Regions from separate parts of the Homo sapiens genome. Here regions 1, 2 and 3 are each linked to region 4. The links are contacts of gene promoters, found by promoter capture Hi-C in blood cells and fetal thymus (Javierre and others, 2016). All regions are on one chromosome and are shown on one strand. The core of a region is centred on a gene start or on the middle of the fragment in contact, and the rest is flanking DNA. Distances in the headings are between cores, read along the strand shown.

Region 1 (2,801 bases), core at 296-2,795, 690 kb before region 4:
TTTTTGTATAACATGTGAGGAAGGGATCCGGTTTCAGTTTGCTGCATATGGCTAGCCAGTTTTCCAAGCACCATTTATTGAATAGGAGATCCTTTCCCCATTGCTTTTGTCGGGTTTGTTGAAGATCAGATGGTTGTAGAAGTACGGTGTTATTTCTCAGGTCTCTGTTTTGTTCCATTGGTTTATATGTCTTTTTGGTACCAGTACCATGCTGTTGGGTTACTGTAGCCTTGTAGTATAGTTTGAAGTCAGGTAGCGTGATGCCTCCAGCTTTGTTCTTTTTGCTTAGGATTGTCTTGGCTATACAGGCTCTTCTTTGGTTCCATATGAAATTTAAAGTAGTTTTTTTCTAATTCTGTGAAGAATGTCAATGGTAGTTTGATGGGAATAGCATTGAATCTATAATTACTTTGGGCAGCATGCACAATTTTTTATTTAGAGTTGTGATAAGTGTTACAAAAGAGATGAGAACAGGGTTCCATGAAATGTTTGGGTTCCTGAAAAGAGCATATAAATGTCATATCTTGAACTTAGTTAAAAGCTTAATGTATACTTAAATTCAAGCAATATTGGATACATTTGCATGGACAACCCTTTTTCTAATTTCAATTTTTTTTCACTTAATAATATGAGAAACTTCCCCCAATACAAATATTTACTTTTTACTGTATTACTCCTATTTCCTTCAAATATTGAAATTTTTTTTAATAATATGAGAAACTTCCCCCAATACAAATATTTACTTTTTACTGTATTACTCCTATTTCCTTCAAATATTGAAGATTTTTTTTTAAGCTCAAGACACAAGCAAAAAGGATTACTGAGGACTTTCTAACTTACCTTTACCTTTGTAATTTTTGCAACACCAGAAAAGCACATAGGATTGAAAAGCAGACTCTGCTTACTAAAAAGAATTTCTGTCAGTTTCATTGGAATGGGATTGCTGGTATCACAGAAACATTATGAGATTCATTTACATAAATTAACTTGATGTAAGTATAGAGAAGTCATCTGTCATTTCTATGCTTTTAAATAAACGGCTCCCCTTGCTGAGACTGCCAGCCATCATAATTGTGGCAGTTGTCATTTGGTAAAACAAATTGTGTGTCTGTCCAAGTTACTCACTTGAATATGAAATGCACTCTTCTAGGAATTTCTTAATACAAGAACATTATGTGAGATCTATATGCTTAGATTTTTTTTAGAGGTTTGGATTTTTTTAATATTATATAATTAATTTTTAGAACAGTATATATTAAAACAATATATTAAACTCTTCAACACCTATATGGCTTAAAGGTGAGGAACATGGGCTCTGTAATACAAACTGTCAATTAATAGCACTATCAACTGCTGTTTGACCTTGGTGTACCCTATTAGTTTCCTTATTAGTAAGACAGTAATTGTGGTGAAGGTTAAAGGAGAATATAAAGTGCTTAACATGTGTCTGGCACATAGTAAGTGGTGAGTAGATGTTAGCTGCTGTCATAATTGTCATTTCTGTCAAACATTAAAACATGTTTATAAAACTGTTTTCCCCCTGTGGAAAATAGAATAAATTGAAACTACAGTGGTTAGCTTCAGGTAATTTATAGTTCACAGCAGCATCTTTTCCTTAGACACTGTGTAATTTGCAGTATGTTAATTGGCCACCATCATGATGACCTGGGAATTATATTCTGTAAACTCTGTCAGTGGCAAAAAAATTTACATAATACGTTTAGAGTTATTTTAATCCAGAAGACTAAAATAATATGTTTTAGAGTATAAAAAGCATAAGATATATATTATCCAGAATGACTTGTTATCAGAGCATTTCAGCTCTCTGTAAATTTTATTAATAAAGATTTGTGCCCAACATTACTATAGCTTTTTGTACTTGATTGGATTAGTTGGTTTATGCCAATCAAGAATTCCATTCTCATATGGGCCTTTGAGTTTGATGTTTTCTTGGGGATCTTCTAATATAAAGTCTTTGCAAACAAACCTGTGCTACAGTTGCCAGGGCTTTAAGTTGAGGGCAAAAAAATTCTTCCAGTACCCACGAAATAACTGTGATCTAATTAAATAAATTATGGCACATCTAGTTTGGATGTGGTCATTCCAAAAGAATGCCTTTTTCCTAATTGATAAAAGGTAAGTATTTGCTAAGATGATGTGTCTGTTGCAGATGCACTTCTCGTATTGAAATATTGTTTCAATAGTATCAAAATTACTAGAAGAAATAATGTATAATGCATTGAATTAAAGTCCTCATTTGCACATCTTTTTTTGGTAACTGGGGCAGGAGAGTACCATGTATTAAGCATCTGGTTATTTTTAATAGTTTTGATTTGACATCTGTTTTGTTCCTAACATATTAAAGAGTAAAAATAACTGTGCTTTATTCATGCTAGTTCAGTAGAAGATTGTTTTTTATGACTTTATTTTGAAATTTTGAGTTGCCACATTTTCTTTACTACATAAATTAAATGTGAAGTGATAGACAATTTATTTTAGAAAGTATTTTATAATGATGAATTACATATTGCTTTTGTACAGAAGCTTTTCTATGGGCACTGGCTTAAAAATGACGACTTAAGTGTTTGCATCAATATTCATGTTTTATAGAGTAGGAAAGCAAATGGGAAAGTTGCGTGCTTCCGTGGTTAATTTCTTTGTGCAGCATCTGCGTCTTCTCTACTTCCAGCAATTATTTCTATGTATATCTTTTTTTTTTTTTTTTCTTGAGACAAGAGTCTTGCTCTGTCACCTGGGCTGGAGTACAGTGGCATGATCTTGGCTTACTGCAACCTCCACCT
Region 2 (2,992 bases), core at 286-2,785, 680 kb after region 4:
CATTGTGTGTCTCAGTGTGTGCACATCAACATACAAAAGTAGAGTAATGTGAACTGTAGTTATAGGTACAGTTGAAGAATAAGGAAGGGTTTGGACAGGTGAAGAAATTCATAGAAGATATTTAAAGTGGAGGAAACTCAGTGATATGCTGGAGCAAGTTTATACTAACTTATGAGAGATGATTATTAAATTTTCAAGAATCTTTCAGCCATTATTGAAAATTTAATTACATAAACTTTCAATTAAATTATGTTAAAAACAAAGGCAAAAATACTCAAAACTCATCACTTCCTAATTGTTCTACTGCATTTTACTCTTATCTGTGTTCTCGAGATTATTTATCCATATGGTAGAAATACTATATTATAGGGTTCTGTCGTGCATTTTTTCCCAACTTCTTATTCAATTATGTCACATTAATAGCTTGAAATCAGTTATGGTGGGAACATTTATACCATAGGAATCAGCAAATACTACCAATCTGGGTTTGATTTATTGTTTTGCTTATTTTTTAGACTTAAGAAAGTGAAGGATAAAATTTTAATATTGTAGATTAAACAAATGTGTGTTGTTATTGTAGCCATTACATTGTGAATAACACAAAAAATTGAGAGAATATTCTTCTAGTATTTGAAAATTACTATCTAATTCAGGAAAGAAGTTGCTTAAGTCAATGGTGAATGAGTGAAATCCCAACAGATGTCTTTGTTGTTTTATTAATATTTTCATCTTACTTGTTAGAGTCAACAAAAATATCAAACAACATTCACATGAGAGCTACATTCGTCACTTGCAGCCATAGGTTGACTACAGATAAAACAGTGGCAAAACTTAATGAAAACATTCAATGAGAATCAATTAGATATATGGAATTTACATTTAAGTATACCATATATGTTGTTATTTGTAAAACGTGTGCTGTATAGCCTTTACATCAGCAAAGATTATAATAAACTTATATGTGTATACATAAGCATACGCTTTTTGTAGAGGTAGCTATTAAACATTTATTAGCACAATACTGTGTAAAACTGTACAACTAAAGGCATTTAGCGCCTCATAACAATCTTTTGAGGTAGGTACTGTTGTTGCCTTATTTTGCAGAATCAGGAAGTTTGAATTACTGTCTAAGACCATACAACTAATAAATGAGAGAAGTGGAATTTTCACTTATGTAATTTGGCTCTAAATCCAGGCTGTAAACAATGAATAACACTGAGGATTTTTTAGCAGGAGAAAAATAAATATTATTTATTTTGGACAAATACCTTTTATAACAATACTGAAAATTAACTTTAGGGAGAAGATCTGGAGGAGGAAGACCATTTTAGAAACTATTATAATCCAATCTTGGAGTAGAGTTATTCTAATATGGGAATTAAGAGGAAAAATTAATTGCCTAAAAAATGTATTGAAAATTAAATTTAGTGCAACTTTATACAGTTAATAGAATTGGCTGAATACAGTATTCAACAATGCTTGACACAATGCCTTTGAAAACTATTACTCAAGAACTCTGTTTAGTAGTTGAAAGATGTGTTTGATATATCAATAGACTACGATGCTTGTGGTTTAAAAAGTACCTATAGTCTTTTATACATACACATAACAGATTTTTCTAGATGTAACTGTTCTACAACTTCAAATGAGAAAGTCTCTCAAACAGTGTTCTTCAACAGAAATCTTAATATATCTGGAAACCAACATTTGACAGATGCAGATAAAAGCAATTCTCTATTTTCAGAAGTTTTGAATGTGAACTTTGAATTGGGAAATGAAGTTTGGGATGATTTTGATGATGAAAACTTAGAAGTTACTAGCTTTTCAACTGATACTGAGAAGACAAAAATATCAGGTAAAATCATACTTAGCATGCAATCATTTCATTAGGAATTCTTTGAATATTTTTCATTTCAGCTCCTGGAACTAAGTTTCTTTGCCTTTGTTGTGTGTGCTTGTTTAGTTAGATTTGGTTTGTTAAGATTATAATTTTTAGCAAAACTGAAAATGTGACTCTTCTACAAAGAACATTTCCCCCCTAAGAACAGAGATCAAGGTTATTCCATGATGATAATGTAGCAAATGAGCACTTTCTATTCTATTGCTCCTATCTCTTGTAAAAGTCAAATTCAAATTGTTTATTCAATTTTCTCTCATGAAACAGACTATTTTGTTCTCCATTCTAAGATCACAAATGGTCTGCTAATATTTGTGAAGAACAAAAAAATACATTTTTAAAACTATTCATCTGCTTGCAAAGAAAATAACTTTTATTTCTAGTTGAAATATGGACTTTCAGCTTGAAGTAAATAAATAAGTTAATACATAAATAAGTAAATAAGAAAGAAAGATTAGTTTCTCCTGTACTAGAAATTCTATTTAAATCATATACAACCCCAAAATAATGAGGCTTATTAGCTCTTTGAGTGAAAGGCAAATTTACTCTATTTCACTAAAACAGAGAATTGAAAACCTTGGCCAGTATGTGACAAGATAGCAATGGAGATACTGTCTCCCATTAGGGCTGACAGAAATAAATCAGTCCCTCAGCCTTCTCAGTGCAGACTGGTATTTCCACAATTATAGATACCACTTACCATACCCCACCTCATGTTTTTAAAAGAGTATTTCAAAGGGAAGCAGTTAGAAGTTGAAATGTTATTGTTTTGGGGGCCCTTAGAATTACCTAGAGAACTAATACTGCTTCTGAAAAGAACAGGATTTGACCACCTTCACAGAATAGGCCAGGAGAATCTCCATGATGTGGGGTCATTAGGCACAATTTTGTTTATCACCAGACAACTACTGTTCCCTACCTCAAACTTAAGTGTCATTGGGTACTGCAAGTTAATAGGCAATGTGTACTGATCCTTTGAGGTAGCCTAGTCCTAAGACGGCACAGCTTTGTCACTGGGAAAATCAGTCTCAATAAGTGCCATTTTCCCCCATGTATAGAGCACTTTAAATGATTATGAGCAGACCACTGAAAATA
Region 3 (3,170 bases), core at 522-3,021, 540 kb after region 4:
TGAGAAATGTGGCAACATTACTAAAAACCATGGTAATCCCTCCCCCCAAAATGGGATTTTTAGTAACTTTATCACTGTCCTGAGGCTTCCTTTTAAAAACTGCAGCTTTGACATTTTTATTACATTATTTTAAGAGAAAGTAAGGCTCTATAGATTCCACATGCATTCTTGAATAAATGAGTGAGTGAATGAATGAATGTTTTTGTTTATGAACATGGTGGCCATTTGCTACTGTGTGCTTTGACAGTAAGACTCCCCTGTACCTGCCTGTTGCTGAATTCTACAATTCTATCACTCAAACCCTATCTTAGTTCAAGCTGCTATAACAAATTACCATAGGCTGGGTGGCTTAAACAACAAACATTTGTCACAATTTTGGTGCCTGAGAAGTCCAAGATCACAGTGCAGGCAGATCCGGTATTTGGCGAGGGCCTCCTTCCTGGCTTGCAGATACCGTCCTCCTGTATCCTCACATGGTAGGAAAAGAGCGAGCTAACTCTCTGGCCTCTTAAAAGGGCACAATCCTACTCATGAAGGCTCTACCCTTTTGAGTTAATTACCTCACAAAAGTCCCACGTTCAAATATCATCACATCGGGGGTTAGAATTCAATGTATGAATTTCAACACATTGAGGGGTTCACTATAACAAATGCACTGTTTCGTTATTTTCCTCTATGCAGTCTATGGAAAGTAACTTTCCTCTCCAGTATTTTTGAGAGGAATGATAATTCAACCTTTCTATTAAGAATAGTTTATGCAGTCAAAATGTTATTTTCTCCAAGAGACAAAGACTTGTTATTTTATCAGTATCCAAATAACTGGCTCACCCAATTACTGGAATAATTTTACATTTCAGAGAAGGTGAAAGAAATTAATATTCATGAGCATTTACTGTGTGGTAGGACTACTGCAAATATTATTTTATTTAACCCTTGCAGCAGTATCTAGGAGTTAGAGCTTATGAGTATCACTGAGGATGCAGAATTAAGACTTAAAGGTTGGGTCTTTTCCAAGGTCATATAGCTAATGAACAGTAGAACTGCAAGAAAAAAGAGAACAGGAATAGGGCAGTCAGACAGCAGTAGGTTGGCCCTAGATGTCACAGGTGGGGGTTTCCAAAGGAAAGATAAATGTCTCTGTAAGAAAAGCATCATTGATTCGTTGCTATTTTATCATCTACAAAACATTCCCTGCCAAATCTTCAGAGGACAATTCTAAAGAAACTTAAAAGGATAATTTATAGTTTGTTCATGTTTACAGCCTAAGAACACATTATTGCCCTGTTTTTATAAATTCATGTTGGCTAAACACATTTAAATATCATTGTGTTTTAGAATATTTATTTCTGAAATTTAACTTTATTTCTGAATCAAGTTCCCCAGTAATACCGACCTCATGAGTGCCACTGTGATATTTTATAAATAATATAGGTAAAACACTTTTTAGGTACGAAGAGACCGGAAGTCCCAGAGCTGAGGCCTGGCTAACTTTGATGAGAAAGGCAGGTTGGGGTATGTTTGTGGAGTGGTGGTTGTGGGGGTAGAGAAGCAGGTTAGCTTAGGGAAAGGGTACCATTTAGTAGACCCTTAGAACCCAGGATTAGGAGCTGTATTTAAAGAGAATAGACACAGTAAACTGCAAGAGATATATTCAAAACCAGTTATAAACTTTCGGAGAAAAAAAGGTAGGAAGGGAGAGGTTGGGGGCTTGGGCGATCCATTGCTTGGAGCTCGGCTTAGCCAGGCTTGGCGGTCCTCAGAGGGGCTGATAAATCGGCGCTCGACTGGCCTAGGAGCTGTCCGCAGGGAGGTGAGGAGAGGGGCCCGGACGCCCGCGGGGAAGGTGGGGACGGGGGCCCGACGCCCGCGGGGAAGTGGGGACCCAGCCGAGCCGTCCGGGCAGCGGTCGATCTCTAGAGCCGTCTGCCGGGCAGGCAGCGGACGGGCGCGGCGAGTTGTTGGTCACCAGGCGTCTCCAGGCCGCCGGCCCGCGCCAGCGCCTCAGCCGCATTTCCAGTCAGAAAGCGGTGAGGCCTGCGGCGCGCTCGGGCGCAGGGCGGGCCCAGCTCCCCGCGAGGTGGGACCGGCTGGGCGTCCGGCCCGCCCCTAAAGTCGGCTGATTGGTGTTCGGTTCCTGTGTCTTGTGTTCCGGTGTGTGGCGCCCCCTGAGCGAGCGCTGGGGGGGACGTACCCATCTGTCTGAGCCGCGGGTTTCACAGCGGTGGGAGGAAACGGGACCCGGGGGGTGGAGTGACGCGCCCCAGCGCCCCGTTCTTGTGCCACTCTCGGGGCCCTAAGGCCTCTGCCTTGGATTTAGGATATTCTCCTTAGGAAATCCACAGAGCTGTTATTTTGCTTTAGGTGCTGATTCGGTCCCCAGCCGGACCCTTCCAGCCAGCCCTGTTGGTGCCTGGGGAGAGGGGGTGAGATCTGGGGCTCCGACAATTGTATGGTCCTTTCCCAGGCCGAGCCTCGGAGTAATTTGTTCCCGTTGATTTTTCCTTCTTTGTCAGATTCTCTGCAGTTATTTGTGACGGTCGGTTATTCCCGTAAATGTTGGTCCCTACTTCTTCCTTAACTCACAAAAATTTCTAGCAAATCAATAATTTTTATCTGAGTTTCTGTACTTTTAAAATAAGGAGTATGTTTCTGAGTAAAAATTGTAAGAAGTAATAGGCCTGCAATTTTATACAATAAGTTTATACAATAATTGTATACAATAATTTTATACAATAAGTAAAGATTACAGAAGACAAAATGGTGAATTGTCATTAATATAACTAAAGATTAATTGTATCTAGTTGTATTAATATTTAACTAGAGATTGTCATTAATATAACTAGAGAAGGTCGGCACCGCAAATTATGTAGACTCAAAAATAGCTTAAGTATTTTAACAGTGATTATAGCAGAGCAGACACTTAAAACTACCTGGGATGATATTGTTTATTGTGTTTGGCAATCTAATTTTGTGCCACGTGCTGAAACTAAAACTTTAATAATAAATAATAGGAACTTAAAAAATCTGAATCTAAACCTAGAACTTTAATTAATTTAAAATAGCATCCCCTCACATCACAAACTCATACTGAACTGTAGCAAGGTCCCTTTTAGGACCTGTGTTTCTTTTTTAAAAAAAGATTTACATAATGAAAGTGCCAAATTCATCAT
Region 4 (3,089 bases), core at 486-2,985:
CTTAGGCAGAAGAATCGCTTGAGGTCAGTTCAGGCTGTAGTTGGCCATGACAGTGCCTGTCAATACTCCAACCTGGGCAACACAGCAGGACCATCTCTTTTTTTTTTTTTGAGACGGAGTCTCACTGTCATCCAGGCTAGAGTGCAGTGGCCCGATCTCAGCTCACTGCCACATCCACTTCCTCCTGGGTTCAAGCCATTCTCCTGCCTCAGCCTCCCAACTAGCTAGGACTACAGGCACCCACCACCATGCCCGGCTAATTTTTCTATTTTTAGTAGAGATGGGGTTTCGCCATGTCGGCCAGGCTGGTCTCAAACTCCTGACCTCAGGTGATCCACCCGCCTCGGCCTCCTAAGTGCTGGGATTACAGGCGTGAGCGACTCAGGCGATCCTCTGAGATCGCCCAGCCATAGCAGCTATCTGTATTAAAAAAAAAAAAAAAAAAAAAAAAGCAATTATCCACTGTCACATCCTACTCGGTGTACATACATCCATGCCTTTGAGAAACTTCTCTTTACCTGAACTTCCCTCCTCACTTTTTAGTCTAACTTCTATTTGTCCCTCAAGATCAAGACGAGTTATCACTTCTGCCCAAGAGCCTCTCTCATTCCCTCCCATCCACCCAGGCCTTTCCCTTGAGTCCCAAAGTCCCTGTACATACCTCTTTCTTTTTTGGGGGGAGCGGGGAGACGGAGTCTCACTCTGTCGCCCAGGCTGGAGTGCACTGGCGTGATCTCGGCGCACTGCAACTTCCGCCTCCTGGGTTCAAGCGATTCTCCTGCCTCAGCCTCCCGAGTAGCTGGGACTACAGGCGCCTGCCATCACACCCAGCTAATTTTTGTATTTTTGGTAGAGATGGGCATTTCATTATGTTGGCCAGGCTGGTCTTGAACTCCTGACCTCAGGTGATCCACTTGCCTCGGCCTCCGAAAGTGCTGAGATTACAGGGGCGAGCCACTGCACCCGGCCTCCTCTATCTTAATTCTTAATACAGGCCAGCGCGCCTTGAAGTAAAGCCCACCACAATCCTGCAGTACCCAAAAGAGGGTTCAGACGTTCCAGGGGCTTAATAAAGTTAATTGAATAAATAAATGAAGCAAGAACCCGAACTTCCCCGTCCCAAATGACCACTTGCAGAATAAACACAAAATGCCAGCTAAAGCTAAACGCTCCGTACTTTCTCCTGCATTTCCAAAATTACAGTACAGGCAGCAGCGATCCACACCAGTCCAAGACCTAAGAGGAACTACAAAGACCATGAGTATTTTTCAAAATGGGAGGAGGCAGTTGGACAACTGGACCTCCCACTCCCTCGCCCCAACCTCCTCCTTCCCAGCCCTCCCTTGAAGAAAAACCAGACATTTAGGGGAAAAGAGGGAGAGAGAGAAAAAGATCCCTTGGGGGCAACGAGCCTGAAGTTGGTAAGGCCAAAGGGAAGCGACTGGCAACTCACCTGGGCTGCAGGCACGAAGCGGGGTGGCCTTCTCAACTGCCCGGACTGTCGCACGATGTTGATGGGGTCGGGGAGGGGAGAGGGGGGAAAAAACGGTTGTTCCCACCCAAGGCCGCACCTCGGGGCCGGCCTAAGGCAGCACCCCCTGTGGAGGGTACATTACCTGTATGTTACCTGTATATTACAAAACCGACCTTATGTGATTGCCCCTTTCAGGCTGCACAAAATGAAGCGGTGCAGGGCAACAGTTCTCCGCAGTTCCTCGCCGCCAGTTTTTGTTGTAATGGCGGTCGCGCGACAGGCGCTTTTATAGAAGACCCCCCGCGGGCGGCCTGCCCATTGGTCTGAACCTGTCACGTGACCACACCCAGCCCCGGGCGGTGCAAAAAAGGTGTAGGAGTCTGAGCCGGGCAGCTCAGGCCTGTTAGGGCAGGCAGAGTGGGTTCGGGTGATTGCCGTGTAGAGAGCCGGGGGTTAGGAGTAGGAGCGCTACACTCAAGGCGTTTGCTGTTAACACGACGTTTTCACTAATCAGTTAGCCTAGTAGAGGTTCTTGAGTTTTGGCTTCTGATGTTTTCGTGGTTTTCACGCTTTTTTCCCCAGCCTTCTCCACAGTTCCTGTCTCTTGCACGTAGTGAGTGCTTGATCAATATTAGGTAGCAGCTGAGGCTAGAGACATACTCTCTTTGGGTTTAAAGTGGCAATTTAAGAGCTGTTTCGCAACAGCTGCGTACTGATGAGTGCGTGATTTAGGATTTTGAGTCTTCGCAACTACCTCTTGATGGTTTGCAGATACTTTAGAGGTGCTAACATGTATCAGAAGAATATATTTAGTACAGTAGTTTCCCTTAGGATCAAATAGCAAACAACGCTTCTGAATTCCTAATACTCATTCGCAGTGGATGGATGGGAAGGGGAGGGCAAAAACAGCTGACAAGCTGCTCGCAAATCCGGCCAAAAAACCATCGATCTCCAGTTTCCTGAAGCGGAAGTCTGGGGGCCATTAACAGCTTGACACGTCTTAATTCAATCACTTTGATGTGGCAGGAAAGAACCAAGTGTTCACAAGAAAGCAACGCACTTGATCTACTTACTAGACGTCACATAAATACCTGGATTGGCAAGCACTTTTTGTTTAGATTTAATTTTCGTGTTCTTGTTTTTGCTGTTTAAAGTAGTATTAATGGTGTGGCTGCAGGCGCCTGCAATGCCCGTTACTGGGGAGGTTAAAGCGGAAGGCTCACTTAATCCCAAGGTTTCAAGGCCAGCCAGAGCAACAACGTGAAACTCTAATAGATTAGAGATTAGATATAGAGATTATCTTATTGTTCAGGAAAAGAGTAGATGGGTACAGACTTAGGGTGTGACTCTCACATCATGAAAAATCTGAAAGAAGTCAAGGGAAATGAAAGAGAGGAATGACTCAGTACAAATTTTGCCCCAACTATCAACTTTTTGACCTTCCTCTTGAGAATTAGTGGCAGGGAGACATGTACACTCTAGGTAAAGAAGATTGAGTGATTTTTTTGAGATTGAGTCTTGCTCTGTGGCCCAGGCTGGAATGAAGCAATGCAATCATAACTCAAGGTAGTCTCGAACTCCTGAGCTCAAGCATCCTCCTACCTCAGCCTCTCCA

What was found. Contacts are between HindIII fragments. The CHiCAGO score rates a contact against its expected background, and 5 or more counts as called.
Region 1: a fragment that was not itself captured here is called in contact with the fragment with the promoter of BRDT in region 4 in 1 of 17 cell types (fetal thymus); the score reaches 5.9 in fetal thymus.
Region 2: a contact is called between a fragment that was not itself captured here and the fragment with the promoter of BRDT in region 4, in 1 of 17 cell types (total B cells). The highest score is 5.6, in total B cells.
Region 3: the fragment with the promoter of HFM1 here is called in contact with the fragment with the promoter of BRDT in region 4 in 1 of 17 cell types (monocytes); the score reaches 5.8 in monocytes.

The regions. Positions count from the first base shown.
Region 1 is chr1:92,637,306-92,640,106 of GRCh38, reverse strand. All of the region lies in intron 13 of EVI5 (ecotropic viral integration site 5), which reads left to right. Among named protein-coding and RNA genes, the nearest start is that of EVI5, 150 kb to the left of the region's middle. The HindIII fragment of the contact is 2,003 bases long and covers 544-2,546 here.
Region 2 is chr1:91,266,608-91,269,599 of GRCh38, reverse strand. HFM1 (helicase for meiosis 1) reads left to right here. Exons shown (of 39, transcript NM_001017975.6): 35 at 1,745-1,855. Among named protein-coding and RNA genes, the nearest start is that of HFM1, 140 kb to the left of the region's middle. The HindIII fragment of the contact is 3,810 bases long and covers 1-2,992 here.
Region 3 is chr1:91,403,438-91,406,607 of GRCh38, reverse strand. It overlaps HFM1 (helicase for meiosis 1), which reads left to right and starts at 1,771. Exons shown (of 39, transcript NM_001017975.6): 1 at 1,771-1,810. RefSeq lists a silencer at 1,797-2,176. The HindIII fragment of the contact is 14,376 bases long and covers 1-3,170 here.
Region 4 is chr1:91,948,047-91,951,135 of GRCh38, reverse strand. BRDT (bromodomain testis associated) reads right to left here and starts at 1,735. Exons shown (of 19, transcript NM_207189.4): 1 at 1,454-1,735. The HindIII fragment of the contact is 8,652 bases long and covers 1-3,089 here.